6 separate regions of the Homo sapiens genome follow, and all the other regions are linked to region 1. The links are contacts of gene promoters, found by promoter capture Hi-C in blood cells and fetal thymus (Javierre and others, 2016). All regions are on one chromosome and are shown on one strand. Each heading gives the region's core, a stretch centred on a gene start or on the middle of the fragment in contact. The rest is flanking DNA. Distances are from core to core; before and after follow the strand shown.

Region 1 (4,437 bases), core at 1,286-3,785:
CTGGGCAGCAAGTATGCCAGCCCAGGAATGGGCCAATAGATGAGGCAGGGCTTTGTAAACCAAAAATAAAATTCTTTAAGAGGCTGGAGTGGGTGGATCACTTGAGGTCAGGAGTTCCAGACTAGCCTGGCCAACATGGCGAAACCCCATCTCTACTAAAAATATAAAAATTAGCCAGGCGTGGTAGCAGGTGCCTGTAATCCCAGCTACTCAGGAGGCTGAGGCAGGAGAATCGTTTGAACCTGGGAGGTGGAGGTTGCAGTTAGTTGAGATGGTGCCACAGCACTCTAGCCTGGCCGAGAGAGTAAGACTCCGTCTCAAAAACTAAATAAATTAATAAAATAAAATAAAATTCTAAGCCCCCACCGCCCCCCACCTTCAAAACATCTGAATGGACTTCTTCCTCAGCCAGAGCTCTTTAAAAATTTAACCTGAGAGAGTGTTTCAAGCCGTGACGGGAAGCAGGGGTTGAACATGCCTCCCGGTGCCTCTCCGGCGTTAACATCCACACAGCCTTTAAGTTTGAGAAGAAACATTTTACAACCTCTTCTCTCTGACCCTAGCACCGGAAGGGTTCCTGTTCAAATAAGAACTTGAGTCTTCACAATTCTTTATCTTAACCCAGACATTCTTTTCTATTGATCCCAGGACTTTAAAGAAACCCAAGCAATTGCCAATCAGAAAATTCTAAAATCTACCTATAAGCTGGAAGCCTCCTGCTTTGGGTTGTCCCGCCTTTCTGGACAAAACCAATGTGTCTCTTAAATTTCATTGATGTCTCATGCCTCCCTAAAACGTATAACACCAAGCTGCACCCCGACCACCTTGAGGACACGTTCTCGGGACCTCCTGAGGGCTGTGTCATGGGCCATGGTCACTCATATTTGGCTCAGAATAAATCTCTTCAAATATGTTAGAGTTGGACTCCTTTCTCTTTTTTTCTTTTTTCTTTCTTTTTTTTTGAGACGGAGTCTCGCTCTGTCACCCAGGCTGGAGTGCAGTGGCCTGATCTTGGCTCACTGCAACCTCCATCTCCCCGGTTCAAGCGATTCTCTTGCCTCGGCCTCCTGAGTAGCTGGGACTACAGGTGCACACCACCACACGCGTCTAATTTTGTATTTTAGAAGAGACAGGGTTTCACCTTGTTGGTCAGGCTGGTCTCCAATTCCTGACCTCAGGTGATCCACCCGCCTCGGTCTCCCAAAGCGCTGGGATTCCAGGCGTGAGCCACCGCGCCCGGCCTAGTTTGACTCTTTTCGTGGACAGTTTGAAGTGTGGAATGCAAGAATATTCAGGGTTATTTGTCAGGCTGCAAAGTTGTTCCACTACCCTGCGGGAAAATGGATACAATTTTAGGCTTAGGTGTTAACAGATAACATTGTTAAGTGTGGGAAGGGCGACAACTGCACTGCAGCTGTGGCCAGTGGCGCGGGAGGGTGTCTAAACTCAAAGCCCACTGGAAGGCGAGTCGCCCATGACCAGGACTAGGGCCCAGGTGCCCCAGATAGAAGGCACCTCGTTCCCTATTGCCCCTCACTAACTCCCGTGACCAGGAGTCCCCACTCCCAACCTTGTCCTGGGGATTCTGGGGAGAAACTGCCCCAGCGCAGAGGCTACTCCAAGGGTTGTCCTTGGTCCGGCGCAAAGGGTTCGTCCGCCACCCTCCCGGCTGCGCACCCCGCGCTCGGACGCTCTAGAAAGGACTTGGGACGGGGGTTGCCTGTGGAGCGGGGGCCTAGGCTTCCTGAGCAGGGAGAGGATTGCACTTTGCTCCCCTTGGGGAACTCCCTGAGGTGAGCAGCGGGGAGGGGCCCCCATACTTTTCCCAGCAGGGGAGCCGGGAGTTTCCTCTGCTCCCACTGCAGAGCAGGGGAGGGTCCCTGCTAGGGGCGGAGAAGGGGCTGCAGGGGCGAGTGGGGAGGGGGGCTACACGTTTCCAAGAAGGGCGGCAGTTTCGTGTCGCTACAGTTGCAGGCGTGCATTTAGGAGGCTGTAGACAGGGAGGGACCCGCACTTTCCCGAGCAGGGGAGCTGCTGGGAAAGTTTGTTTTTTTGCTCCCACTGGAGACCAGGGGGTGAGGGGCGGAGAAGTGGCTGCAGGGGCGAGTGGGGAGAGGGGGCTCTATGTTTCCAAGAAGGGCGGCAGTTTTGTGCCACTACAGTTAAGGGCCGCCCTCGGGCGTGCATTCAGAGGGCTGTAAACCGGGAGGGACCCGCACTTTCCCGAGAACGTTGTAGTTCACTTTGCTTCGGGTCGGCGCCGCCCTGGCTACGGCCCTGTGGGTGGGTGAGGGGGCGTGGGCAGTTTCCTGAGAAGGGGCGGGGCGTGTACCGTACTCCCCTCGGCGCTGCCTGGGCCACCCCCGCCCGCCTACCCCCTCTGTCTCCTCCCCGGGCCCGGCGTTCCCGCCCCTTCTGTGCGCGCGTGGAGGCCGGGGCGGGGCGGGCGCAGCCGGCGCTGAGCTTGCAGGGCCGCTCCCCTCACCCGCCCCCTTCGAGTCCCCGGGCTTCGCCCCACCCGGCCCGTGGGGGAGTATCTGTCCTGCCGCCTTCGCCCACGCCCTGCACTCCGGGACCGTCCCTGCGCGCTCTGGGCGCACCATGGCCCGCGGGGCTGCGCTGGCGCTGCTGCTCTTCGGCCTGCTGGGTGTTCTGGTCGCCGCCCCGGGTGAGCGAGCGGAGGGATCCGGGTTGGGGGACGCGGAGGGCGCGGGCCGGGACTGGGGATCCGCTTGAGATGCGGCGTTGGGGGCGCCCCGCGGGGACACCCGGAGCCTCCTCCCTGCCCGGCAGGACGCGCTGTGCCCACGGGGGCCCAGGCCCGGAGGAGGCGCCCACTTTCTCCCCAACGCTTTTCCTGGAGCCGTTCCAGAGAGAAAAGTCAGCGTTTGTTGTCGGAGTTGCAAACTCTTACATGTGGGGCGGCCTTGGGAGAGGTGCGTCCGATTTTTCCCAATCTAGGGGACCTTCTTACAGATCTCTCTCCCTTTGCATGAGCCCCTCACCCCACCCCGTTATCTACCCCCAGGGTTTGGGGACCTGCGTCTTCAGGCCGCGCGCGGAGGCCGCCCTGGAGTTGCCTGTCACAGCCACGCCCTGCGTCCCGGGCCTAAATTTGGAATCGCTAGGAGCCTGAGACCCGGGTGGTGGGGGGAAGGGAAGGAAAAGTTAGAAAAAAACTTTGAGCCCTGAAAATGTTCAAAAATACTCTGTGGATGCGGGCTCCGGGAATTTCAGCGCGTGCTGTGCGCCAAGCAACACGGGGCGCAGAAAGAAACGTGTGCTTACCAAATTGTCCATCTGCGGCGGTGGAGAATTCGGAAAACAGAAAAAGTGGGCAGGGAAGAAAGAGCCACGGTCACCCTCCCACGCCCTAAACCGGGCCTATTTCTAATTATTACTTTAATCATGTTTTTCTGTTTCCCTCCCTTTGAAACGGAAACGGAGACCCTGCCGGATGTGGTATGTTATAAATTCTTTTTTCATGTTATAAATTCTTTTTTCAATGGTCAGTGCATTTTTTGCTCTTCGTATGGGCAGGCTTTTAAGTAGACCGGCTTGCGGGCAGTGTGGACTTCAGGACGGGCCTTATCAGGGCTGGACGTATTTAGGAAGGAGACGCGGGAACGCCCGGCCCTGGGGAGGACGGAGGAGGCCCGATTTGTGTTGATAGGATCTAGCTCAGCCTAGAGCTGCGGTGACTAGGCCGGGTCTCTATTTTTAGGGAGGAGTTGCTAATGGATTTACACCCTCTTTAAAGGGGTCCCGGGTATCCTAGAAATTGTGCTTTCACTTGGTAGAGATTAGAGATAATGAAGCCTGCTCCGTAGAGGAAAACTTGGAGGACTTTCCAGCCTGCAGGGGAGGTTCCAAGCAGAGCTTCCTGTTTCTCCCTTTTCTTCCTAAATGTCCTTCTTGCGGGCAACCTGTCACCACGGACGGGATGGCTCTGTAGGGTTTTATCAGCTGCATTTGTTCCCCAGGCACCTGCAGATGAACGGGTTTTTCACTTGTCTCTCTGCGAATGCATTCCTTCATCCTTCATGCCTGCCTTCCTTCTTTTGCACCTACTGTGGGCTTGGGGTCAGGGAAATATATCCAAGGGAGTGCTGGTGGCCTAAGAATTCAGTTTCCTGGAGAACAGAGGCATCTGAACAGGCAGACGGGAGACAGGGCCACAGGGACCTTTATAGTTCCATCACGAAATAACTCAGGGGTTCCCAGTGGTAAATCTTGGTGAGGGGCTTGGCTGGATTTTGAAGCCCTAGGGACAGATTTGCCGGCTGGTCTGGCGTTCCAGGTCATTGGAGCAGAGTGAGTGGAAAGCCTTATATTCTCTAAGCCCCAAACAAGTCGTTGCACAGTTTTTTTGTTTTTGTTGGTGGTGGTGGTTTTTTTTTTTTGGACGGAGTTTCACTCTGTCACCAGTCTGGAGTG
Region 2 (4,304 bases), core at 1,651-4,150, 1.0 Mb before region 1:
GGTTGCAGTGAGCCGAGATCACGCCACTGCACTCCAGCGTGGGTGACAGAGTGAGACTCCATCTCAAAAAAAAGAGAAAAGGTTGTATTCTTTTGAGTCCTTGATAGCCTCTGACTGAATACATCATGTATTAGTTTGGTGTAGAAGTAACGGAGTGAAAACAAAAACAACAAAACAACCACCACCACCACCACAACAAAAAACACCCAGGCACAAAAGTGCAAAATGGCACAATATCATTTGCATGAAGTGTCTAGAATAAGACTGCTTGCAGAGTCAGAGAGCAGATGGGTGATTGCTTAAGGCTGAGAGCAGGGAGACTGGGGAGTGACGGTTTAATGGGTATGGGGTGTTTTTTTTTGGGTTACGAAGGTGTTCTGGAACTAGCTAGGGCCGGTGGTTGTGTAAAATGCTCAGTGCACTAAATCGTCTCTTCATTGTGCAATTTTTAAAATGGCAAACTGTGTGTGATGGGTATTTTCCCACAGTAAGAAACAGCAGCAGCACAAAGGGAGGTGATAACTCACGTCATATCACACCCTGCAGGCCCCATCACCCTTCCTCCTTCCTCTGTTCACCTCCTCCTCCTTTTCCGGGCTCTGCAGACGAGCCCGGGCAGCCCTCCCCGCTGGCCGTCTGGACCCAGGCCTGCCTGTCTTGGGTGCATTTTAGGACATTAAGTCTGGCTGGAACCTGAGAGCATCAGCCATGCGGTAAGTCCCCACATCCCTCCAGCAGTCTGGGAGGGGAGCTCTCTCCTTTGCTTTTGTACACTCTGGAGAAAATTGTCAGGCAGCAGACATGAAGAGCCTCTGGGGAGATTCAGTGAGGGCTGGCAGGCAGGTGTCCAGGAGCCTGAGTGACTCACGAGAGAAAGGACATATTCCTTAAAGACAAATTCATCAACGGATTGGTTTAAATAATTCCTGCTCAGCACATCCCAAATTAAGCTTCGTCATCAGACACTGCATCTGTTGCCTTTTCTAGAAACATGAGCTCTAAGCTCAGTGACACCGTCTGTCAGGGTTTCAACGTTTCACCTCCCCCCTCCAGGGGAGCCGGTTTCCATACACCAAAGCTCTCCAAGGTCCAGTTGTGAGGATGGGGAACGCTGGCTGTCTGGTGACGGCCTTTCCAAAGCTGCCCTGTCCTCTTGCATTAAGAAAGATTAGTTTGTACTCCGGGAGGAGAGGCGCAGAAGGTTAACAAGATTAGAGAGAGCTCCTGAGACCTGCGGTGAGATTCCCTGAGGGATGTGGCTAATAAAACTGTAAAAACAACGCAGGCGGTGTCTCTCACCGCCGGGTCCTGATTTCAGGGCCGCAAATGTCTACCTCTTCTAGGCAGTTTGCTACCTCAATAATTTAGGTTGTCAGTTGTGGTATCCAAGCCCCAGCACACTTTTTTGTTTGTTTGTTTGTTTGTTTGTTTTGCAGTTTGCAGGTGATAGTTTCTAAAGATGTGTTTTTCTATTTTTCTTTCTTTCTTTCTTTTTTTTTTTTTTTTTGAGACAGAATCTCACTCTGTCGCCCAGGCTGGAGTGCAGTGGGGCGATCTCAGCTCACTGCAAGCTCCGCCTCCCGGGTTCACGCCATTCTCCTGCCTCAGCCTCCCGAATAGCTGGGACTACAGGCGCCCGCCACCACGCCCGGCTAATTTTTTGTATTTTTAGTAGAGACGGGGTTTCACTGTGTTAGCCAGGATGGTCTCGATCTCCTGACCTCGCGATCTCCCCGCCTCGGCCTCCCAAAGTGCTGGGATTACAGGCATGAGCCACCACGCCTGGCTAATTTTTTGTATTTTTAGTAGAGACGGGGTTTCACTGTGTTAGCCAGGATGGTCTCGAACTCCTGACCTCGTGATCCGCCCACCTCAGCCTCCCAAAGTGCTGGGATAACAGGCGTGAGCCACCGCGCCCGGTCTATTTTTCTTAACTAAGAAATGTGTATGTGTGTGCATATGGTTGTGTGGCTGGTAGAGGTGGAGAGCTTCAGGAATGTGTGTATGCGTGTGTGTTTCTGCGTGTGTCTGTGTATGTGTTTGTGTGTTATCTTTGCTTGTGATTATGTTTGTGTCTGTACATATGTGTGTGTCTTTGTGGATGTGTGTTTGTATATGTATGGCTGTCTGTGTGTGTTTGCCTCTTTGTGTATGCATGTGAATGTGTGTGTTTATATTTGTGTATTTATGTCTGTGTAAGTGTATTATGTATTTGCACATGAGTGTGTTTCTGCATGTGTATATTTGGGTGTCTGTGTGTGTGCATGTGTGTGTATATGCATGCTAGTGTGTGTGCAGTTGTTTGTGTATGCATTTGTGCATATGTGCATGTGTGCATTTGTGTGTGTAGATATGGATATGGATGAGCGTGTATATTAATGTCTGTATGCATTTGTGTGTATGTGCATGTGTATATTTGCGTGTGTAGATATGGATATGTATGAGCATGTATATTAGTGTCTGTATGCATTTGTGTGTATGTGTGCATATGTGCATGTGTGCCTTTGTGTGTGTACATATGGATATGTATGCACGTGTATGCTGGTGTCTGTATGCATTTGTGTGTATGTGTTTGTGCATGTGTATATTTGGGTGTGTGTAGATATGGATATGTATGAGTGTGTATGCCTGTTAGTGTCTGTATGCATTTGTATTTGTATTTGTGTATGTGAATGTGAGCATTTGCACATGTGTGTATACGTGTGTCTGCATGTGTGCATCTATGTGTGTGCGTGTATGTGCAAGTGCGTATGTGTATAGGCACATGCTGATTTGTGTGTGTGAGAGGAGGGGCACAGGCAGACACTCTCTGTGTGGTCCCAGGTGAGGCCTGGTGGCAACGAGCCTGGTGCGTTCAGCCCTGGGTGGATGTGGTAGCGGAGGGAACAGCAGGGCAGCGTCCGAGGTGTGAAAAAGCACAACCTGCCCCGAGAGAGCCCTGCGCTCTGGGCCATCTCGGCTTCTTGGGCCATAGGTACATTCCTCACAGGTGACCTGAGTGTGGAGGAAAGGCCGTCTCTGCAGGCCAGGGGGCTCGCTGGTTAGTGCTCACACCCAGAGTGCACCCGGACGGCACCAGAGATCTTCCTACCTCCCAGGAGCCGTTGCACGATCTCCGGGCATCGCCACCCCCGACCTCGGGCACCACGAGACTCCATTTACAGACGGGAAGCGACCTGGGGCTGACCTTGATAAAACCCCTGTCCGGCCTCGATGGGTCTGAGCGGCAGGTGCCATTGTCTTCCCAACAGCGGCGTGTGTGACCCAACACGAGTTCGGGAATGCGAACAGTCTCCTCTCCGAGCTTCGCAAGCTGTTTTAGCACAAACTCACTGCTCAGCAGACTTCTTTGAACAAGGAGTCTTCTTAAAAATGACCCTTAAGCCTGTAATCCTAGCACTTTGGGGGGCCGAGGCGGGCGGATCGCTTGAGGTCAGGAGTTCGAGACCAGACTGGCCTACATGGAGAAACCGCATCTCCACTGAAAAATACAAGAATTAGCCAGGGTTGGTGGCGCATGCCTGTAATCCCCGCTACTCAGGAGGCTGAGTCAGGAGAATCGCTTGAACCCGGGAGTTGGGGGTTGCAGTGAGCCGAGATTGCACCATTGCGCTACAGCCTGGGCAACACAACGAGCCTCTGTCTCTAAAATAAAATAAGATAAAAAGTAAAATAAAGTAAAATGAAATATAAATATAATAATAAAAATGTAATAATAATATAATAATAATAATATCTGCCTACATAGGTCAGTGTACAGGCGGCGAACTGACTTCTTGCTCCGTGGCGTCAGAGCCTTGGAGAAAAGGAGGGTCACTGAGAAGGGGGGGCGGGTCAAATGAGAAGAAAACGCCAGGGAGGCTGATGCAAATCCCAGACCTCAAGGAGCAAGGGAGGGGCTGTTCTATCAAGTCCTGACGCCCAGGGCTAAAGGTAGAGGAGAAGGAATCCGTTCTTTGCCTTCTTTCTCTTCCCGCCCCCTAGCCCCTGCGCCTGGACCCCATTGGCTGAGCCCTGCTGAAGTCACCCAGCCAGGGTGACGCCAGTCAGAGCCAGGCAGATGTCAATTACACAGGGCCTTCTCTGTCTTCCCGCCCCCTAGTGCCTGCACCTGCTCCCCATTGGCTGAGCCCTGCTGAAGTCACCCAGCCAGGGTGATGTCAATCAGAGCCAGGCAGATGTCAATTACACAGGGCCTTCTCTTCCCGCCCTCTAGCCCCTGCACCTGCTCCCCATTGGCTGAGCCCTGCTGCAGTCACCCAGCCAGGTGATGTCAATGAGAGCCAGGCAGCTGTCAATTACAC
Region 3 (4,186 bases), core at 789-3,288, 1.2 Mb before region 1:
TAGGCAGGTTGGGCTCCCAGTTGAGGGACAGAATTGTCCTAGTTCCAGAGAGAGGGCCCACGGAGCCCAGGCCACCTGCCCTGGGCTGAGACATGGTTGTTTCAAAGGCAGTCACGTATCATTCATCACTAATTCCCCAGTGCAGTGGTTCAAGGCTAACGAGCAGCACTCAGCGCCCACCTCTGCCTCTTTCTGGTTGTAGGTCTTGAACACACCCCCGCCTCCATGTCTGCCTCAGTTTCCGTTACTGGTAAAACAGGGATGATTGTAACAGCACCTGTCTCACGAAGTTTCGAAAATCCCAGAGATCAGGCCAGGCGCACTTTGGGAGGCCGAAGCGGGTGGATCATGAGGTCGGGAGTTCGAGATCAGCCTGGTCAACATAGTGAGACCCCATCTCTACTAAAAAATACAAAAAATTAGCCGGGCGTTGGGGTGGGCGCCTGTAATCCCAGCTACGTGGGAGGCTGAGGCAGGAGAATCACTTGAACCCGGGAGGCGGAGGTTGCAGTGAGCAGAGGTCACGCCACTGCACTCCAGCCTGGGCAACAGTGCGAGACAAGAAAGGAAAGAAAGGAGAGGAGAAGAGAGGACAGGAGAGGAGGGGAGGGGAGGGGAGGGGAGGGGAGGGGAGGGGAGGGGAGGGGGAGGGAGGAAGGAGGAAGGAGGGAGGGAGGGAAGGAGGAAGGAGGAGGAAGGAGGAAGGAGGAGGGAGGGAAGGAGGAGGAAGGAGGAAGGAGGGAGGAGGGAGGGAGGGAAGGAAGGAAAGATCGCAGAGATAAAGCCCTTGTAAAAGTGGCTGCTGCTTCCTCCTCACTCAGTCGACGTGAACTATTTTTATTAGCGAAAAACCAAGAACAACGTCTCCTCCCCACAAAACAAAAGCAAAATAAAAGCCAAAGACAGGTGTGAAGAAGATTTCTGGGAGAGCGCATTTTAAAGAAGGTGGGACTTTCTTCATCCGAGAGCCACCCAACCCAGCATCTCGGCGTGGGCCGGCCTGTACCCCTCGTCAAAGGAACAATTGGCTTGCAAACTGGGAATCTCCGTTAAAACGGACAAGACGATTTTGCTCTTTTCTTGCGGCAACGTCTGAAGATGTGCAAGAAGGGGGTCTGTTTTAGGCCAACCTCAGCCCTCTCTGCGACCCTCGAGAGCTTGTGCAAATGGCACAGCTCCTGCCTGGAGGCTGTGTGTCCTTTTGCAGCACTCTGGTGAGCCCGGGTTAAAAATCACACACCCCAAAGGGAGGCTGAGCTGAGGGCTTTCTCTGGCATTCAGCAGCGTCTCTGGCCTGGATATGCCCTGCTAGCTGGGGTATTTCTGCAGAGCAGCCTCTCCTACCCGAACACTCCCAGGTCCCCGTGACTTACAACGGTGGCTGCAGGGAGGGCAGACGTCCTGGGTGATGCTGGTCTGGTGGTGCTTGTCTGAGCAGCCGTCAAGCTAGGCAGGGGGTCCTGGGGGACCCTCCTCCTGGGCCAGAGGCGGCTGCCCTATGGGAGTGAGCTCCGCACAGGAGCAGGAGTGGAGGGCCAGCTCTCTGCTCTGCTGGGAAAAAAATCCCACTGGCTGTGCCTGCACCGCACCTTGAGACAGACACCAGCAGCCTCCGGAGACCCAGCAAGCTGCTCTTAGCTGCGATCTGTCATCTGCAGACTGAGCTTGGTGCATGGCGGTTATGAAACTGGCCAGAGCAACAATAGATGGAAAAGCTTCCTCTTTTTGGCCCTGGGCCCCAGGGAGCGAGGTCAGGTAATCCGAGGGGGATTTTATGTGTTTTTCTCCTAATGCGGTATTTTTCAATTAGGCTTTAAAAAAAAAAAATGAGTTTGGCCTCCATGTATGCGGGACCATTGCCTCAGAAGGGTTAGTTTAGGATTAGAAAATGGGTTAAACTTAAGGACAGCTTCTCTTGGATATATTGGATATTACTTTATGCTTTATGTGAAAATACTAATTTTTAAAAATATGTATGTCCATAGTCACTATTTGTTTTCTTTTGAGACTGAGTCTCGCTCTGCCTCCCAACCTGGAGTGCAATGGCACCGTCTCCGCTCACTGTCACTTCCTCCTCCCAGGTTCAAATGATTCTGCCTCAGCCTCCCAAGTAGCTGGGAAGACAGGCATACATCACCACACCTGGCTAATTTTTTTTTTTTTTTGTATTTTTTTTTTAGTAGAGACAGGGTTTCATCATGTTGGTCAGGCTGGTCTTGAACTCCTGACCTCAGGTGATCCACCCGCCTCGGCCTCCCAAAGTGCTGGGATTACGGGCATGAGCCACTGCGCCCGGCTGCGTATTCACTATTTAAAAGTAGTCAGTACTCATTGGATGATGCTAAGACAGTTTTTTATTTGGAAGCTTGAGGCTGCAGTGAGCTGAACTGCACTGTACTCACTGTTCGGAACTGAATTGAACTCACACCACTGCACTCCAGCCTGGGTGACAGAGCAGGACCCTGTCTTAAAAATTAAAGGGAGAGCCCTTTATTACAAACAGCGAGCTCAGTATATATTTTCTGAGTGTTGTGTCTGTTACAGGCTGCATTGTACCCTCCCAAATTCATACGTTAAAGTCCTAACCCCTAGGACCACACAATGTGGCTGTATTTGGAGGTTACCTCTTTAAAGAGTTAACTACAGTAAAATGAGGTCACCAGGAGTGGGCCCTGATCCAATAGGACCGGTGTCCTCATAAGAAGAGGAGATGAGGACACAGACACACACAGAGGGACGACACTGTGAGGACACAGGGAGAAGACGGCATCTCCAAGCCCAGGAGAGAGGCCTCAGGAGGAACCAGCCCTGCCCATACCTGGATCTCAGACCTCCAGCCTCCAGGACTGTGGGAGAATCAATGTTTGTTGTTTCTAAGCTGCCCAGTCTATGGTATTCTGGGATAGTCGTTCGAAATGGACAAAGACACCTCATAAGAAGAGGAGATGAGGACACAGACACATACAGAGAGATGACCCTGTGAGGACACAGGGAGAAGACGGCGTCTCCAAGCCCAGGAGAGAGGCCTCAGGAGGAACCAGCCCTGCCCATACCTGGATCTCAGACCTCCACCCTCCAGGACTGTGGGAGAATCAATGTCTGTTGTGTATAAGCCCCCCAGTCTACGGTATTCTGTGACAGCAGCCTGAGATGGACTAAGACACCTCATAAGAAGAGGAGATGAGGACACAGACACACACAGAGAGATGACCCTGTGAGGACACAGGGAGAAGTCGATGTCTCTAAGTCCACAAGAGAGGCCTCAGGAGGAACCAGCCCTGCCCACACCTGGATCTCAGACCTCCAGCCTCCAGGACTGTGGGAGAAACAATGTCTGTTGTTTACAGTCCACCCAGTTTGCAGTGTTTTATTACGGCGGCCGAGCTGACTACCCATCCACTCTGAAGCAGTTGGGAGAAGGCAGACGTCAGAGATGCTGCCGAAACCTAGGCTGAATGGAAGTGAACTTGGGATGCTGCTGAGACCTAGGCTGAATGGACGTCAACTTGGGTACCACTGGCTTCTCCCTGCTGTTGAATCCCAAAGACCATCTCGAGGCCATCTGGAGTCATGCTCCCCCGCCAGCTTCTCAGTAGAGACAGCACGTTACAGGGTGGGAAATGGTTATTCACAATTGTTCAGTGGCTGCCTGCCTTGGCGTTGGGGAGCCACATGAGAAGGCTCACAGCCACAGCCACAGCCCTCCCGGGTGCGACTCCCTGGGATCCTGCCCTCTGCCCTCTCAGAGGGTTTCTCTCTCTCTCCGCTCAGTTCACAGGAAGCAACTTGTCTGCAGTTCCCAAATCTACTTCTTGGAGCCTCTGTCCTCTACTATTTTCCTGGAGGGAACAGGCTGGGAAGGAAGGTGGTGTCCCCTTAAAACATTCAGTCAGCCGCGGCTTCAGACGGAGCAGTCATTTGTAGGTAACTAGGACTTGGGAAGATATTCAACACTGCTTCCTGGGAGTTTTTTTTCTTTCTTTCTTTCTTTTTTGTGAGATGGAGTCTCACTCTGTCTCCCAGGTTGGAGTGCAGTAGCGCGATGTCGGCTCCCTGCAACCTCCGCCTCCCTGGTTCAAGCAATTCTCCTGCCTCAGGCTCCCGAGTAGCTGGGATGACAGGCACCCACCGCACCTGGCCAAGTATTTTTAATATTAGTATTTTAGAAACTCAGTCACTCCGCTAG
Region 4 (4,636 bases), core at 917-3,416, 1.1 Mb before region 1:
ACCCGTAGAGGAGCAACACCTCATTCCTTTTTTTTATTTTTTTGAGCTGGAGTCTCACTCTGTAACCCAGGCTGGAGTGCAGTGGCACGGTCTTGGCTCACTGCAACCTCCGCCTCCAGGGTTCAGGCTATTCTCCTGCTTCAGCCTCCCGAGTATCTGGGATTACAGGCACCCACCACCACGCCCGGCTAATTTTTGTATTTTTAGTAGAGATGGGGTTTCACCATGTTGGCCAGGCTGGTCTCGAACTCCTGACCTCAAGTGATTCACCTGCCTCGGCCTCCCAAGGCCTCATTTCTTCTTCTCACAGAATAACATCGTGCTCAGTGAAGGAAGGCTGACGTGAAAGGCCCCATATGGTATGACTTCATTTATATGAAATGTGCAGAGCAGGCAAATCCTTCGAGGTGGAAAGTGGACTGGTGGTTTGCAGAGGCTGGGCAGGACTGCGGAGGGAGTGTTTAACGGAGACAGTGTCCCTTTTTGGGGTGATGCAAATGTTCTGGAACCCGGCGGAAGTGCTGGCTATACAACATCACGAATGTACTAAGTGCCCCTGAATTATGCTTGAAAAGGGTTAATGATGGCCGGGCTCAGCGGTGACACCTGTCATCCCAACGGTTTGGGGGTCCGAAACGAGGGAATCGCTTTAGCCCAGGAATTCGAGACCAGTCTGGGCAACATAGTGAGACCCCCCATTTCTACAAATTCTTTTTTCTTTTTGAGACAGAGTCTCGCTCTGTCGCCCAGGCTGGAGTGCAATGGCACGATCTCGGCTCACTGCAAGCTCCACCTCCCAGGTTCACGCCATTCTCCTGCCTCAGCCTCCCGAGTAGCTGGGATTACAGGCACCCGCCACCACGCCCGGCTAATTTTTTGTATTTTTAGTAGAGACGGGGTTTCACCGTGTTAGCCAGGATGGTCTCGATCTCCTGACCTCATGATCCGCCCGCCTCGGCCTCCCAAAGTGCTGGGATTACAGGCGTGAGCCACTGTGCCTGGCCAAAAATATTTTAAAAATTAGCCAGGTGGGGTGGTGCACACCTGTAGTCCCAGCTACTCAGGAGGCTGAGGCGGGAGGATCGCTTAAGCCTAGGAGATGAAGGCTGCAGTGAGCTATGATTGCACCACTGCACTCCAGCCTGGATGACAGAGCAATACTGAGTCTCTTTAAAAAATAAACGGCAGGGCGCGGTGGCTCATGCCTGTCATCCCAGCACTTTTTGGGGTCCAAGGTGGGCGGATCACTTGAGGTCAGGAGTTCAAGACCAGCCTGGCCAACATGGTGAAACCCCGTCTCTACTAGAAGTATAAAAATTAGCCAGGCATGATGGTGGGCACCTGTCATCCCATTTACTCGGGAGGCTGAGGCAGGAGAATTGCTTGAACCCGGAGGAGGTAGAGGTTGCAGTGAGCCGAGATTATGCCACTGCACTCCAGCCTGGGTGTCGCAGTGAGACTCTGTCTCAGAACAAAAACCAAAAACCAGCATCATCGTGAAAGGGGGTCGTGTGCTGACGATATTTTGAGATGTCTGCAGCAGCTCTCGTGTGACTTGAAAATATCTGTGGTTTCTCTCCGTCAGCAAGCCACCGGTTTTTTTTGTTTGTTTTTTTCCTTTTTTTTTTTCAGACAGAGTTTCCCTCTTGTCGCCCAGGCTGGAGCGCAGTGGCGCTATCTCGGCTCACTGCAACCTCTGCCTCCCGGGTTCAAGCGATTCTCCTGCCTCAGCCTCCCGAGTAGCTGGGAGTACAGGCGCGTTCCAACACGCCCAGATAATTTTGTATTTTTAGTAGAGATGGGGTTTCTCTATGTTGGTCAGGCTGGTCTCGAACTCCCAACCTCAGGTGATCCTCCTGGCCCCCACACTTTCTTCTATCATGGCTGTGGTTTGCCAGTACGCTCATGGTTGAAGGGAACACCACATCTTAGGAAGAGGTAGTGAAAATTAGAGTGAAGTCTCTTCTCCTTCCTGGTTTGTAGAGCCCGTGAATTTTACCTCTAGGCCCCCAAGGGTTAAAAATACCTATTCCCCAGCCACTGATACGCAGAGCGGCCTCCGCCTACGGGGTTCAAGCGATTCTCCTGCCTCAGCCTCCTGAGTACCTGGGATTACAGGTGCCTGCCACCAAGCCTGGCTAACTTTTATTTTTATTTTTATTTTTATTTATTTTTCTGATATGGAGTTTCACTGTTGTTGCCCAGGCTGGAGTGCAGTGGCATGATCTCAGCTCACTGCAACCTCTCCCTCCCAGGTTCAAGCAATTCCCCTGCCTTAGCCTCCTGAGTAGCTGGGATTTCAGGCGTCCACCACCACGCCCGGCTAATTTTTGTATTTTTGGCAGAGACGGGGTTTCATCATGTTGGCCAGGCTGGTGTCGAACTCCTGACCTCGGGCGATCTGCCTGCCTCGGCCTTCCAAAGTGCTAGGATTACAGGTGTGAGCTACTGCCTCTGGCTAATTTTTTGTAGTTTTGGTAGAGATGAGGTTTCATCATGTTGGCCAGGCTGGTCTTGAACTCCTGACCTTGGGCAATCTGCCTGCCTCAGCCTCCCAAAGTGCTAGGATGACGGGCGTGAGCCACTGACATCCAGCTAATTTTTTGTATTTTTGGTAGAGACGGGGTTTCATCATGTTGTCCAGGCTGGTCTCGAACTCCTGACCTCGGGTGATCTGCCTGCCTCAGCCTCCCAAAGTGCTAGGATTATAGGCATGAGCCAACATGTCTGGCTAATTTTTCTATTTTTTAGTAAAGGTGGGATTTCTGTTACTGTCCCAGACAACAGTAACTTGCTACCTTTGCCTCCTTTGACCGCAGGCCTCCTGCTGGGGCTATTGACTGCTCATTCAAAGACTGTCGCTGGTTCACAGCGGTGTTCAGGGAGGTGGTCTGGTGGGTTCTAAATCTTGGAAGAGCAGTCACTTTAAGGCACATGATACCATGTCATGGGAGTTGTCAGAAGTTTCACAGAACCAGAGTTAATGCAGAGTTAATACCACCTTAAGAGGATCAAACTTAGTACACCCTTAACAGAAACAATTAGCTAATGCAGCTTTCATAGACCAAGAGTGAATATCGCCTTAAGAAGATAACATTTAGTATACCCTTGGCCAGGCACAGTGGCTCACGCCTGTAATCCCAGCACTTTGGGAGGCCGAGGCGGGCGGATCACAAGGTCAGGAGTTCGAGACCAGCCTGGCCAATATGGTGAAATCCCATCTCTACTAAAAATACAAAAATTACCTGGGCGTGGTGGCGGGCACCTGTAGTACCAGCTACTTGGGAGGCTGAGGCACGAGAATGGCGTGAACCCGGGAGGTGGAGGTTGCAGTGAGCCGAGATCACGCCACTGCACTCCAGCCTTGGGGGCAGAGCGGGACCCTGTCTCAAAAAAAAAAAAAAAAAGTGGGGGCTGGGGAGGGAGAGCACTAGGACAAATACCTAATGTAGGTGACGGGTTGACAGGTGCAGCAAACCACCATGGCACATGTATACCTGTGCAACAAACCTGCACGTTCTGCACATGTACCCCAGAACTTAAAGTATAATAATAATAATAATAATAATAATAATAATAATAATAAAAAGTCTTTGGGAGCAGAAAAAAAAAAAGATCAAAGTTAGCGTACCCTTAACAGAAACAGTTAATGCACCTTTCATAGACCAAGGGTGAACTCAGCCATAAGAAGGTAACATTTAATATATGCCCTTAAAAGAACAATTAATTGAGACAACCCCAAAAGGAATGAATACAACTTTAATGAATAAAACAAAACAGAACGCTAATTTAAAAAGGTTAATACGGGCCGGGCGTGGTGGCTCATGCCTGTAATCTGAGCACTTTGGGAGGCCGAGGAAGGTGGATCAGGAGGTCAGGAGATTGAGACCATCCTGGCTAACACGGTGAAACCCCGTCTCTACTAAAAATATTTTAAAAATTAGCCGGGCGTGGTGGTGGGCGCCTGTAGTTTCAGCTACTCGGGAGACTGAGGCAGGAGAATCCCTTGAACCCGGGAGGCGGAGCTTGCTGTGAGCCGAGATCGCACCACTGCACTCCAGCCTGGGTGACAGAGCCAGACTCCGTCTCAAAATAAATAAATAAATAAATAAATAAAAAAGAAAAAGGTTAATACAACATTAAAGAACAAGAATTAATATAGCTTTTTTTTTTTTTTTTTTTTTTTGAGACCTAGTCTCACTCTGTTGCCCAGGCTGGAGGGCAGTGGCATGATCTCAGCTCACTGCAACCTCCGCCTCCCGGGTTCAGGCGATTCTCCTGCCTCAGCCTCCCGAATAGGTGGGATTACAGGCGTGCACCACCATGCCTACTTTTTGTATTTTTAGTAGAGACGGGGTTTCACTATGTTGGCCAGGCTGGTGTCGAACTCTTGACCTCAAGTGATCTGCCTGCCTTGGCCTCCCAAAGTGCTGGGATGACAGGTGTGAGCCACTGCACCTGGCCTAATATAGCTTTAATAGAAAAGGAGCTAATACAAGCTTAGAATAATAAACTTTATGCAGACTTACTGAAACAAACAGTCAATGCAACCTTAACCAAACAGGAATTGATAACAGTTTAATAAAAAAGCTAATACCACTTGAATAGAATATATCTTACTACAACCTTCATAAGA
Region 5 (4,477 bases), core at 129-2,628, 1.1 Mb before region 1:
GCGAGTGAAGCTTCCTCTACTTGGACTTGGCCGTCAGGAAGTGGCTGCCCGTCAGCTCAGCAGGGAAGAGGTGGGTTAATGAAGGTGGGCGGAGAAAGAAGGCGCAGACGGGGGACTCCGGCCCCTAACTTGTGGAAAGTTCGTTGTACTTTTTGGCTTTGAGTGGGTTAAAGCTGGGATACGTTTGGCCTTCGTGGAGATTACTAGGGTTCATGGTTCTGGATTGTTGTTGCAGCCCGAGACTTCCTGTTTTATCAGGGCAAGTACAGGGCCGCCGCCCCCTCCACAAAACCTTTCCAGATGCCTGCAGCTGTGCTCTCCCTGGCCCCTTCCCTTCCCCAGTGTCTCTCTGCCCCTTCCCGTGGAGCTAGGCGTTTGTAGCGTCCCCGTTCCTACTTGACCTGTGTGAGGGGCCTGGTCGTGCTCAGCTTCCTATTCTGCAGGCCTTGGGAGCTGCTGGCTGCTGGATGTAGGGTGTCGGGCAGTGCTGACCGAGGCTTTGACACTAACCTGTTCTTTATCAGCTCGGCTCTTTCCCCTTTGGTGTACTCTTAATGATTTCAAAAAGTAAAGAACTCCGTTGAGATGGCTGTTAACAAAGTGGAAACCGGTCTCTGACACGGCAGAGAGACACTGCTGTTTCTCTTCTCCGGGTCCAGAAAGTGCCTGCTGGCTTGGCCCCTCCTCATTGGCGGGGGAGGTGGGGGGTGCTGGTGCTGACTGTCTGCGTCTTATGTTTCAGGCCCAAGGTCCCGGAGGCTATGGCAGCGGCTACCATCGTGCACGACACGTCTGAGGCCGTGGAGCTCTGCCCTGCTTACGGCTTGTACCTGAAGCCCATCACCAAGATGACCATCAGCGTGGCACTCCCGCAGCTGAAGCAGCCGGGGAAGTCCATCTCCAACTGGGAGGTGATGGAGAGGCTGAAGGGCATGGTGCAGAACCACCAGTTCTCCACGCTGCGTATTTCCAAGAGCACCATGGACTTCATCCGCTTCGAGGGGGAGGTGGAGAACAAGAGCCTGGTCAAGTCTTTTCTGGCCTGCCTGGACGGCAAGACCATCAAGCTCAGCGGCTTCTCCGACATCCTGAAGGTGCGCGCGGCCGAGTTCAAGATCGACTTCCCCACCCGCCACGACTGGGACTCCTTCTTCCGCGACGCCAAGGACATGAACGAGACCCTGCCGGGGGAGCGGCCGGACACCATCCACCTGGAGGGGCTGCCCTGCAAGTGGTTCGCCCTGAAGGAGTCGGGCTCCGAGAAGCCCAGCGAGGACGTCCTGGTCAAGGTGTTTGAGAAGTTCGGGGAGATCCGGAATGTGGACATCCCCATGCTGGACCCCTACCGGGAGGAGATGACGGGCCGCAACTTCCACACCTTCAGTTTCGGGGGGCACTTGAACTTCGAGGCCTATGTGCAGTACCGCGAGTACATGGGCTTCATCCAGGCCATGAGCGCCCTGCGCGGGATGAAACTCATGTACAAGGGCGAGGACGGCAAGGCCGTGGCCTGCAACATCAAGGTGAGTCCTGGGCACCGAGAGAGCCACGCGCTTCCTCCCTCTGGCGACTTCCTTCCAGCAGGGTCAGCAGAACGCTCCCAGCCACACCCCTGAGGCTGTGGGGACCTCCCCTAAGTAAAATGGCAGCAACAGTCCTGTGCCTGTCCAATTTCAGAGGCACAGGCGTGAGGTGGAGTAGGGGTCCCGTGCTGTGGTTTTGGAAATTTGGTATCTTAAGGAAGATGTGGGGGAGACACAGGTCATATAGTAGGTGAGGGATGGAGCCTCAGGAACTCTGACAGGGATTTGAACCGTGTCAGAACCAAGAGAACCCGGCCTTCCCAGAATGCACCTTGAAACCAGGGCTGAACGTTCCCTTTAGCCTCATGTGCTTTTTTATTTTTTTTATTTTTTTTATTTTTATTTTTTTTTCGAGGCAGAGTCTCGATCTGTTTCCTGGACTGGAGTGCAGTGGCGCAATCTTTGCTCAGTGCATCCTCCGCCTCCTGGGTTCGAGCGATTCTTCTGCCTCAGCCTCCCGAGTAGCTGGGACTACAGGCGCGTGCCATCACACCTGGCTAATTTTTGTATTTTTAGTAGAAACAGGGTTTTGCCGTATTGGCCAGGCTGGTCTCGAACTCCTGACCTCATGAACTGCCTGCCTCGCCCTCCCAAAGTGCTGGGATTACAGGCGTGAGCCACTGCGCTCAGCCTAGCCTCGTGTTTTGACCGTGTTGGCTTCACAGTGACAAATGAGCCAGCCTCCTGGAGGGGGTTTTGTGGCCTTAAGATGTGCCCTGTGGGTGTGGGCAGGCGGCCTGCTCAGTGACTGTGGCCACAGGGAATGGTGGAGCCGGGTAGCGGAAGGGGAGCTGTGTCTCGCAGCGGTGGCGTGTCACTTGTGTTCAGTAAGTGGCGAGGGCTAGTTGGTGTTCCTCGCTGAGTCGTAACTCCGTGGGATGAGCTAAGTCTTGAGCCACTGATGGTGACTTGAAGGGATTGGTTTGGCTTCTGGGCTCCACTGTCTGGGTCTGCACCGGACATGAGTGGTGAGCGGTGAGCGGTGAGCGGGCGCTCAGGCTCTGAGGCCACTCGGCCCTACGGCCCAGGAGAGGGCGCCTGGCCGTGTGTCTGGGGGGTTTTGGGGGAAGGCCATCTGACACTGTTTTTGCTTTTAAAGGTTTCTTTTGATTCGACCAAACACCTGAGTGATGCCTCAATTAAGAAGCGGCAGCTGGAGAGGCAGAAGCTTCAGGAACTGGAGCAGCAAAGAGAAGAACAAAAGCGCAGAGAGAAGGAAGCGGAGGAGAGGCAGCGAGCGGAGGAAAGGTACCTTCTGCGGGAGCGGGCCCTCGGCGCTGGTGTCCGGCACCTGGGAGTGTGCGCAGACCCGTGTGCGTGTGTCTGCATGTATTCCTGTGCGTGTGTGTGTGCATGCATGCTTGTGAGCTTGTGTGTGTACCTGTGTGCATGGACGCACGTGTGCCTGTGAACCGGTGTGTGTACTTTGTATGTCCCTATGTGCGCCCGAGTGTGTGCCTGAGCATCTGTGTGCACGTGTGCCTGTGTGTGCGTGCATGTGTGTGAGCTCGTGTGTGTACCTGTGTGTGTATGTGCACGTGTGCCCACATGTGTGTGCTTCTGTATCGGCACATAGCACACATGTGCCTGTGTGCATGCGTGTGTGCCTGTGAACCCGTGTGTGTACTTGTGTGTGCACGTATGGGTGTGTGTGCAGGCCTGTGGGTGCTCAGCTGTGCACGTGAGGACCTGCGTGAGTGGCTGTTTGAGACGCAGCAGAATATGAATGTTTCTCTTTTTCTTGTCACACGTCGTGGTCTGACACGATCTCTGCCGGCTCCCAGGACCGCGCCTTGCCCGAAGAGCCACCTCTTCTCCCTCCACATGCTGTTCACACCTCCCGCTGAAACAAGCAGAATGCCTTGGCTGTTTGCAAGTTTGCATTTAGGTTGAGGCTACATTTACAAAATGAAGTAGAGGGTTGATGGTGATGGCCAGATTTAAAAAAAAAAAAAAAAACAAAAAACCAATGATAGGACAAAAACCCGGTTTCACATAAGAGGCCTTTAAAGCAATTGCCTGGGTCGTTCACTGTGGTTGGGGTACCAGAGACAACCTCAGGTCACTCTTTGTAGCCCCTTTTATCTTCTTAGCATTGCAGGAGGGAACCAACAACTTTCTGTGAATCCCCTGAGGCGGAATCCTCCTCCTCCTCCTCCTCCTCCATCCCTCCCACCCTCCTAGTGAGGTGGATTCCTCCTCCTCCTCCTCCATCCCTCCCACCCTCCTAGTGAGGCGGAATCCTCCTCTTCCTCCTCCATCCCTCCCACCCTCCTAGTGAGGTGGATTCCTCCTCCTCCTCCTCCATCCCTCCCACCCTCCTAGTGAGGTGGATTCCTCCTCCTCCTCCTCCATCCCTCCCACCCTCCTAGTGAGGTGGATTCCTCCTCCTCCTCCTCCATCCCTCCCACCCTCCTAGTGAGGTGGATTCCTCCTCCTCCTTCTCCGTCCCTCCCACCCTCCTAGTGAGGTGGATTCCTCCTCCTCCTCCTCTTCCTCCTCCATCCCTCCCGCTGTGCCCTCCTAGTGAGGCGGATTCGTCCTCTTCCTCCTCCATCCCTCCTGCCGTGTCCTCCTAGTGAGGTGGATTCCTCCTCCTCCTTCTCCGTCCCTCCCACCCTCCTAGTGAGGCGGAATCCTCCTCCTCCTACTCCTCTTCGTCCTCCGTCCCTCCCGCTGTGTCCTCTGACGACTTTGGTGCGTCCTGCACGTCTGTTGCGCTTCATGTCGCCGATATCAAGTCTGGGACGTGTTGGACTTGGCTGGGGGGCTCCTGGACAGCCTCTGGTGGGACCGAGTTGGTCCGTTTTGTTTCCATTTCTCACTGCTTTATGTGACGCTGGTGCCAGCGTGTTGATGTGTGTGGCTGGTGATGTTTGCACGAGAGTCCCGGC
Region 6 (4,707 bases), core at 396-2,895, 1.0 Mb before region 1:
CCTGAAAATCTGCTCTAGTTTTGAACAACATCAGAGCTAAACAAATCAGAAAGAATGTGATTGTTTTGGTCGGGTGTTCTCCGGAAGAAGCTATTGCCTCCTCCTGTGAATGCCAGCTGGGCAAAATATTCCTAAAGCATCTCACAAATTCATCAGTGGTTTCTGCTCTTGGACAGCTATTTTCTTTGATGATAAAGACTTAGGCAATGCATGGAATTCTAGATGTATTAATATATACTCAGACAAGCACTGAACAGACTTTGCTTTCCTAGTTAAAATCTAAGTGATACAGGTACAATCAGCTGCCTGTAATCCCAGCTCTTTATAGGCTCATGCCTGGAATCCCAGCACTTTAAGAGTCCGAGGTAGGCAGATCACCCAAGGGCAGGAGTTCGAGACCAGCCAGGCAAACATGGAGAAACCTTGTCTCTACTAAAAATACAAAAATTAGCCGGGCATGGTGGTGGGTGCCTGTAGTCCCAGCTACTCGGGAGGCTGAGGCAAGAGAATTGCTTGAACTTTGGAGGCCAGGTTGCAGTGAGCCGAGATCACACCACTGCACTCCAGGTAGGCGACAAGAGGGAAACTCTATCTCTTAAAAAAAAAAAAAAAAAAGGCTGGACATGGTGGCTTATGCCTGTAATCCCAGCAGTTTGGGAGGCCGAGGCAGGCAGATCACGAGGTCAGGAGTTCGAGACCAGCCTGGCCAAATGGTGAATCTCTCTCTACTAATAGTACAAAAATTAGTCAGGCGTGGTGATGGGCACCTGTAATCCCAGCTACTCAGGAGGCTGAGGCAGGAGAATCACTTGAACCCAGGAGGCAGAGGATGCAGTGAGCCAAGATCGTGCCATTGCACCCCAGCCTGGTGACAGAGAGAGACTCCATCTCAAAAAAAAAAAAAAAAAAACCCAGGTGCGGTGGCACCTTGGGAGGCTGAGGCAGGTGAATCACTTGAGGTCGGGCATTCGAGACCAGCCTGGCCAATGTGGTGAATCTCTGTCTTTACTAAAAACACAAACATTAGCTGGGCATGGTGGCAGGTGCCTGTAGTCCCAGCTACTTGGGAGGCTGAGGCAGGAGAATTGCTTGAACCCAGGAGGCCAGGTTGCAGTAAGCCGAGATCGTGCCACTGCACCCCAACTGGGGGACAAGAGTGAAACTCCGTGTCTTAAAAAAAGACACAAATAGTGGACTTGGGGCTCACCCTAATCCATGATGTTCTCATCCCTAACTCCTTAACTAGATTACTTCTGCAAAGAGTCTTATACCAAACGCGGTCCCATTCTCAGGTTCTAGGGGGTTAAGCCATACTCATATCTTTTTGAGGAGACACCGTTGAATGGACTGAATTGTACTGCTCCCCAAATTCGTTTGTGGAGCCGTAACATCCAATGTGATGATATTTGAAGATGAGGACTTTGGGAGGTACATAGAGTTACTCGAAGTCGTATGTGAATGAATTATATTTTGTTACTTCACTCTTCTCTCGATGGACAGATTGTAGATTTTTGAGTAGGGCACTCACATGCGTTTCACTAAGGTTTTTAAAAGATCCCTTTACAGCGGTGTCAAGAGTAAATTATAAGCCAGGTGCGGTGGCTCACGCCTGTGATCCCAGCACTCTGGGAGGCCGAGGCGGGCGGATCACTTGAGGTCGGGAGTTCGAGACCATCCTGGCCAACAAGGTGAAACCCCATCTTTACTAAAAATACAAAAATTAGCCAGGTGTGGTGGTGCGCACCTGTAATCCCAGCACTGTGGGAGGCTGAGGCAGGCAGATCACCTGAGGTTTGGAGTTCGAGACCAGCCTGGCCAACATGGTGACACCCCGTCTCTACTAAAAATACAAAAATTAGCCAGGTGAGGTGAGGTGGTGCGCACCTGTAATTTCAGCTACTCGGGAGGCTGAGGCAGAAGAATTGCTTGAACCCAACAGGCGGAGGTTGCAGTGAGCCGAGATGGTGCCACTGCACTCCAGCCCGAGTGACAGAGTGAGACTCTGTCTCGGGGGGAGGGGAGGGGGGAAAGTAAATTGTGGGGAACAACTGTGTAAGCCGGTAGGATAGGAGATGGTTGCAGGAATGCGGGTCAGGAGATAGTGACATGGAGTTAACAAAGGAGGTGGTACAGAGTGCTTAGTTCTGAATTTTTTGAAATTCTTGAATGAGTTTCTTACGGGGGTAAGGTATACGTAACCTAAAATTTACCTGTTTTGGCTGGGCGCGGTGGCTCACGCCTGTAATCCCAGTACTTTGGGAGGCCAAGGCGGGTGGATCACGAGGTCAGGAGATCGAGACCATCCTGGCTAACGCGGTGAAACCCCGTCTCTACTAAAAATACAAAAAATTAGCTGGGCATGGTGGCGGACGCCTGTAGTCCCAGCTACTCGGGAGGCTGAGGCAGGAGAATCGCTTGAACCCGGGAGGCGGAGCTTGCAGTGAGCCGAGATCACGCCCCTGCACTCCAGCCTGGGCAACAGAGTGAGACTCCAGCTCCAAAAAAAAAAAAAAAAATTTACCTGTTTAACCATTTTTAGTTACTTATTTATTTATTTTGAGAAGGAGTCTCGCTCTGTCACCCAGGCTGGAGTGCAGTGGCGTAATCTCTGCTCACTACAACCTCCGCCTCCTGAGTTCAAGTGACTCTCCTGCCTCAGCCTCCTGAGTAGCTGGGACCAGAGGCACAGATGGGGTTTCACCATGTTGGCCAGGATGGTCTCGATCTCCTGACCTTGTGATCCGCCCATCTTGGCCTGCCAAAGTACTGGGATTACAGGCATCAGCCACTGTGCCCGGCCATTTATTTATTTATTTATTTATTTTTCAGTTTTCCCTAAGGTAATTTATTTTTTATTTATTTTTTATTTATTTTTTTTAATTTTTTTTTTCTTTATTATACTTTAAGTTTTAGGGTACATGTGCACATTGTGCAGGTTAGTTACATATGTATACATGTGCCATGCTGGTGTGCTGCACCCATTAACTCGTCATTTAACATTAGGTATATCTCCTAATGCTATCCCTCCCCCCTCCCCCCACCCCACCACAGTCCCCAGAGTGTGATATTCCCCTTCCTGTTATTTATTTATTTTTTGAGAAGGAGTCTGGCTCTGTCACCGAGGCTGGAGTGCAGTGGCGCGATCTCGGCTCACTACAACCTCCGCCTCCTGGGTTCAAGTGATTCTCCTGCCTCAGCCTCCTGAGTAGCTGGGACTACAGGCGTGTGCTGCCGTGCCCGGCTAATTTTTGCATTTTTAGTAGAGATGAGTTTTCACCATGTTGGCCAGGCTGCTCTTGAACTCCTGTTTTTAACCTTTTTTAAATGTACAGTTCAGTAGCATTAAGGACATTCTCATTATTGTGCAGTTTTCACCACCCTGCACTTCCCAAGCTTGTTTATCTTCCGCAACTGAAACTATGTCCTCATGAAACACTCTCAGGGCCGGGCGCGGTGGCTCACGCCTGTCATCCCAGCACTTTGGGAGGCCGAGGCCTGTGGATCACCTGAGGTCAGGAGTTCAAGACCAGCCTGGCCAACATGGAGAAACCCCGTCTCTACTAAAAATACAAAAATCAGCCCGGCGTGGTGGCGCACGTCTGTAATCTCAGCTACTCGGGAGGCTGAGGCAGGAGAATGGTCTGAACCCGGGAAGAGGAGCTTGCAGTGAGCCGAGATCACGACACTGCACTCCAGTCTGGGTGACGGAGTGAGACTCCCTCTGCAATCAAACAAACAACAACAACAAAAAAACAGTCCCTCCTCATTCCCCTCCCACAGCCCCTGGCTGTAAGAGTTAAAGAAAGAGGAAAGAAATAGGAAAAGCGGCTTAACAGTTAAAGACAGGTTTATTTTGGTAAATAAACCTGAGAGACGATTTGGGCCAATTTTGGTTAGGAGCAGTTTTTTTTAAACAGACCTAAGAGTTCTTAAGGGTTTAGGGTGGGTGAGCTTATTACAGGCTTGGAATGTTTTTGTGGGTTTTTTTGTTTTGCTTATTTGGGAGGGAGAGTTTTGTGTGTGTTTGTTTTTTTTTTTTTTTTTTTGGAGACGGAGTTTCACTCTTGTTGCCCAGGCTGGAGTGCAGTGGCACGATCTTGGCTCACTGCAACCTCCACCTCACGGGTTCAAGTGATTCTCCTGCCTCAGCCTCCTGAGTAGCTGGGATTACAGGCATGCACCACCACGCCTGGCTAATTTTTGTATTATTTATTTATTTATTTATTTATTTATTTATTTTTTGAGACGGAGTTTTGCTCTTGTTGCCCAGGCTAGAGTGCAGTGGCCTGATCTCAGCTTACTGCAACCTCCGCCTCCCGGGTTCAAGCGATTCTCCTGCCTCAGCCTCCCGAGTAGCTGGAATTACGGGCACCCGCCACTACGCCCGGCTAATTTTGTATTTTTAGTAGAGACGGGGTTTCTCCATGATGGCCAGGCTGGTCTCGAACTCCTGACCTCAGGTGATCCGAAAGTGCTGGGATTACAGGCGTGAGTCACTGCCCCTGGCCTGTGTTTGTTTTTTTCCTTTTTTAATTTGTTTTTTTCCTGCAGCTGCAGGCATACCCACCCCCAAGTTTCCCTTCGGCTTTTCTATTTTAGTGCACCTAAAAGGAAAGGAATGTGCTTATTAGGGCCCATTGTATGAGTTTGAAGTTTGGTGGTTAAGCAAGAAATTCTTCTCCCTCCCTTTGTGCCCGAGCTGTTTTA

What was found. Contacts are between HindIII fragments. The CHiCAGO score rates a contact against its expected background, and 5 or more counts as called.
Region 2: a contact is called between a fragment that was not itself captured here and the fragment with the promoter of CD99 in region 1, in 14 of 17 cell types (non-activated CD4 T cells, activated CD4 T cells, monocytes and 11 more). The highest score is 26.8, in non-activated CD4 T cells.
Region 3: a fragment that was not itself captured here is called in contact with the fragment with the promoter of CD99 in region 1 in 5 of 17 cell types (activated CD4 T cells, non-activated CD4 T cells, M0 macrophages and 2 more); the score reaches 7.7 in activated CD4 T cells.
Region 4: a contact is called between a fragment that was not itself captured here and the fragment with the promoter of CD99 in region 1, in 7 of 17 cell types (M0 macrophages, naive CD4 T cells, naive CD8 T cells and 4 more). The highest score is 8.4, in M0 macrophages.
Region 5: a contact is called between a fragment that was not itself captured here and the fragment with the promoter of CD99 in region 1, in 13 of 17 cell types (non-activated CD4 T cells, activated CD4 T cells, naive CD8 T cells and 10 more). The highest score is 14.6, in non-activated CD4 T cells.
Region 6: a fragment that was not itself captured here is called in contact with the fragment with the promoter of CD99 in region 1 in 7 of 17 cell types (neutrophils, naive CD8 T cells, naive CD4 T cells and 4 more); the score reaches 10.8 in neutrophils.

What each region holds. Positions count from the first base shown.
Region 1 is chrX:2,688,760-2,693,196 of GRCh38, forward strand. It overlaps CD99 (CD99 molecule (Xg blood group)), which reads left to right and starts at 2,536. Exons shown (of 10, transcript NM_002414.5): 1 at 2,536-2,668. The coding sequence starts at 2,602. The HindIII fragment of the contact is 9,076 bases long and covers 1-4,437 here.
Region 2 is chrX:1,657,159-1,661,462 of GRCh38, forward strand. No RefSeq gene overlaps it. Among named protein-coding and RNA genes, the nearest start is that of ASMT, 44 kb to the left of the region's middle. RefSeq lists enhancers at 140-641, 642-1,141. The HindIII fragment of the contact is 3,904 bases long and covers 949-4,304 here.
Region 3 is chrX:1,492,720-1,496,905 of GRCh38, forward strand. The region is part of intron 1 of P2RY8 (P2Y receptor family member 8); the gene reads right to left. Among named protein-coding and RNA genes, the nearest start is that of ASMTL, 42 kb to the left of the region's middle. The HindIII fragment of the contact is 650 bases long and covers 1,714-2,363 here.
Region 4 is chrX:1,616,004-1,620,639 of GRCh38, forward strand. All of the region lies in intron 1 of ASMT (acetylserotonin O-methyltransferase), which reads left to right. Among named protein-coding and RNA genes, the nearest start is that of ASMT, 3.3 kb to the left of the region's middle. RefSeq lists an enhancer at 2,507-3,144. The HindIII fragment of the contact is 4,661 bases long and covers 1-4,497 here.
Region 5 is chrX:1,592,702-1,597,178 of GRCh38, forward strand. AKAP17A (A-kinase anchoring protein 17A) reads left to right here. Exons shown (of 5, transcript NM_005088.3): 2 at 743-1,523; 3 at 2,683-2,831. The coding sequence starts at 762. Among named protein-coding and RNA genes, the nearest start is that of AKAP17A, 3.3 kb to the left of the region's middle. The HindIII fragment of the contact is 2,741 bases long and covers 9-2,749 here.
Region 6 is chrX:1,686,689-1,691,395 of GRCh38, forward strand. No RefSeq gene overlaps it. Among named protein-coding and RNA genes, the nearest start is that of LINC02968, 43 kb to the right of the region's middle. The HindIII fragment of the contact is 3,492 bases long and covers 1-3,391 here.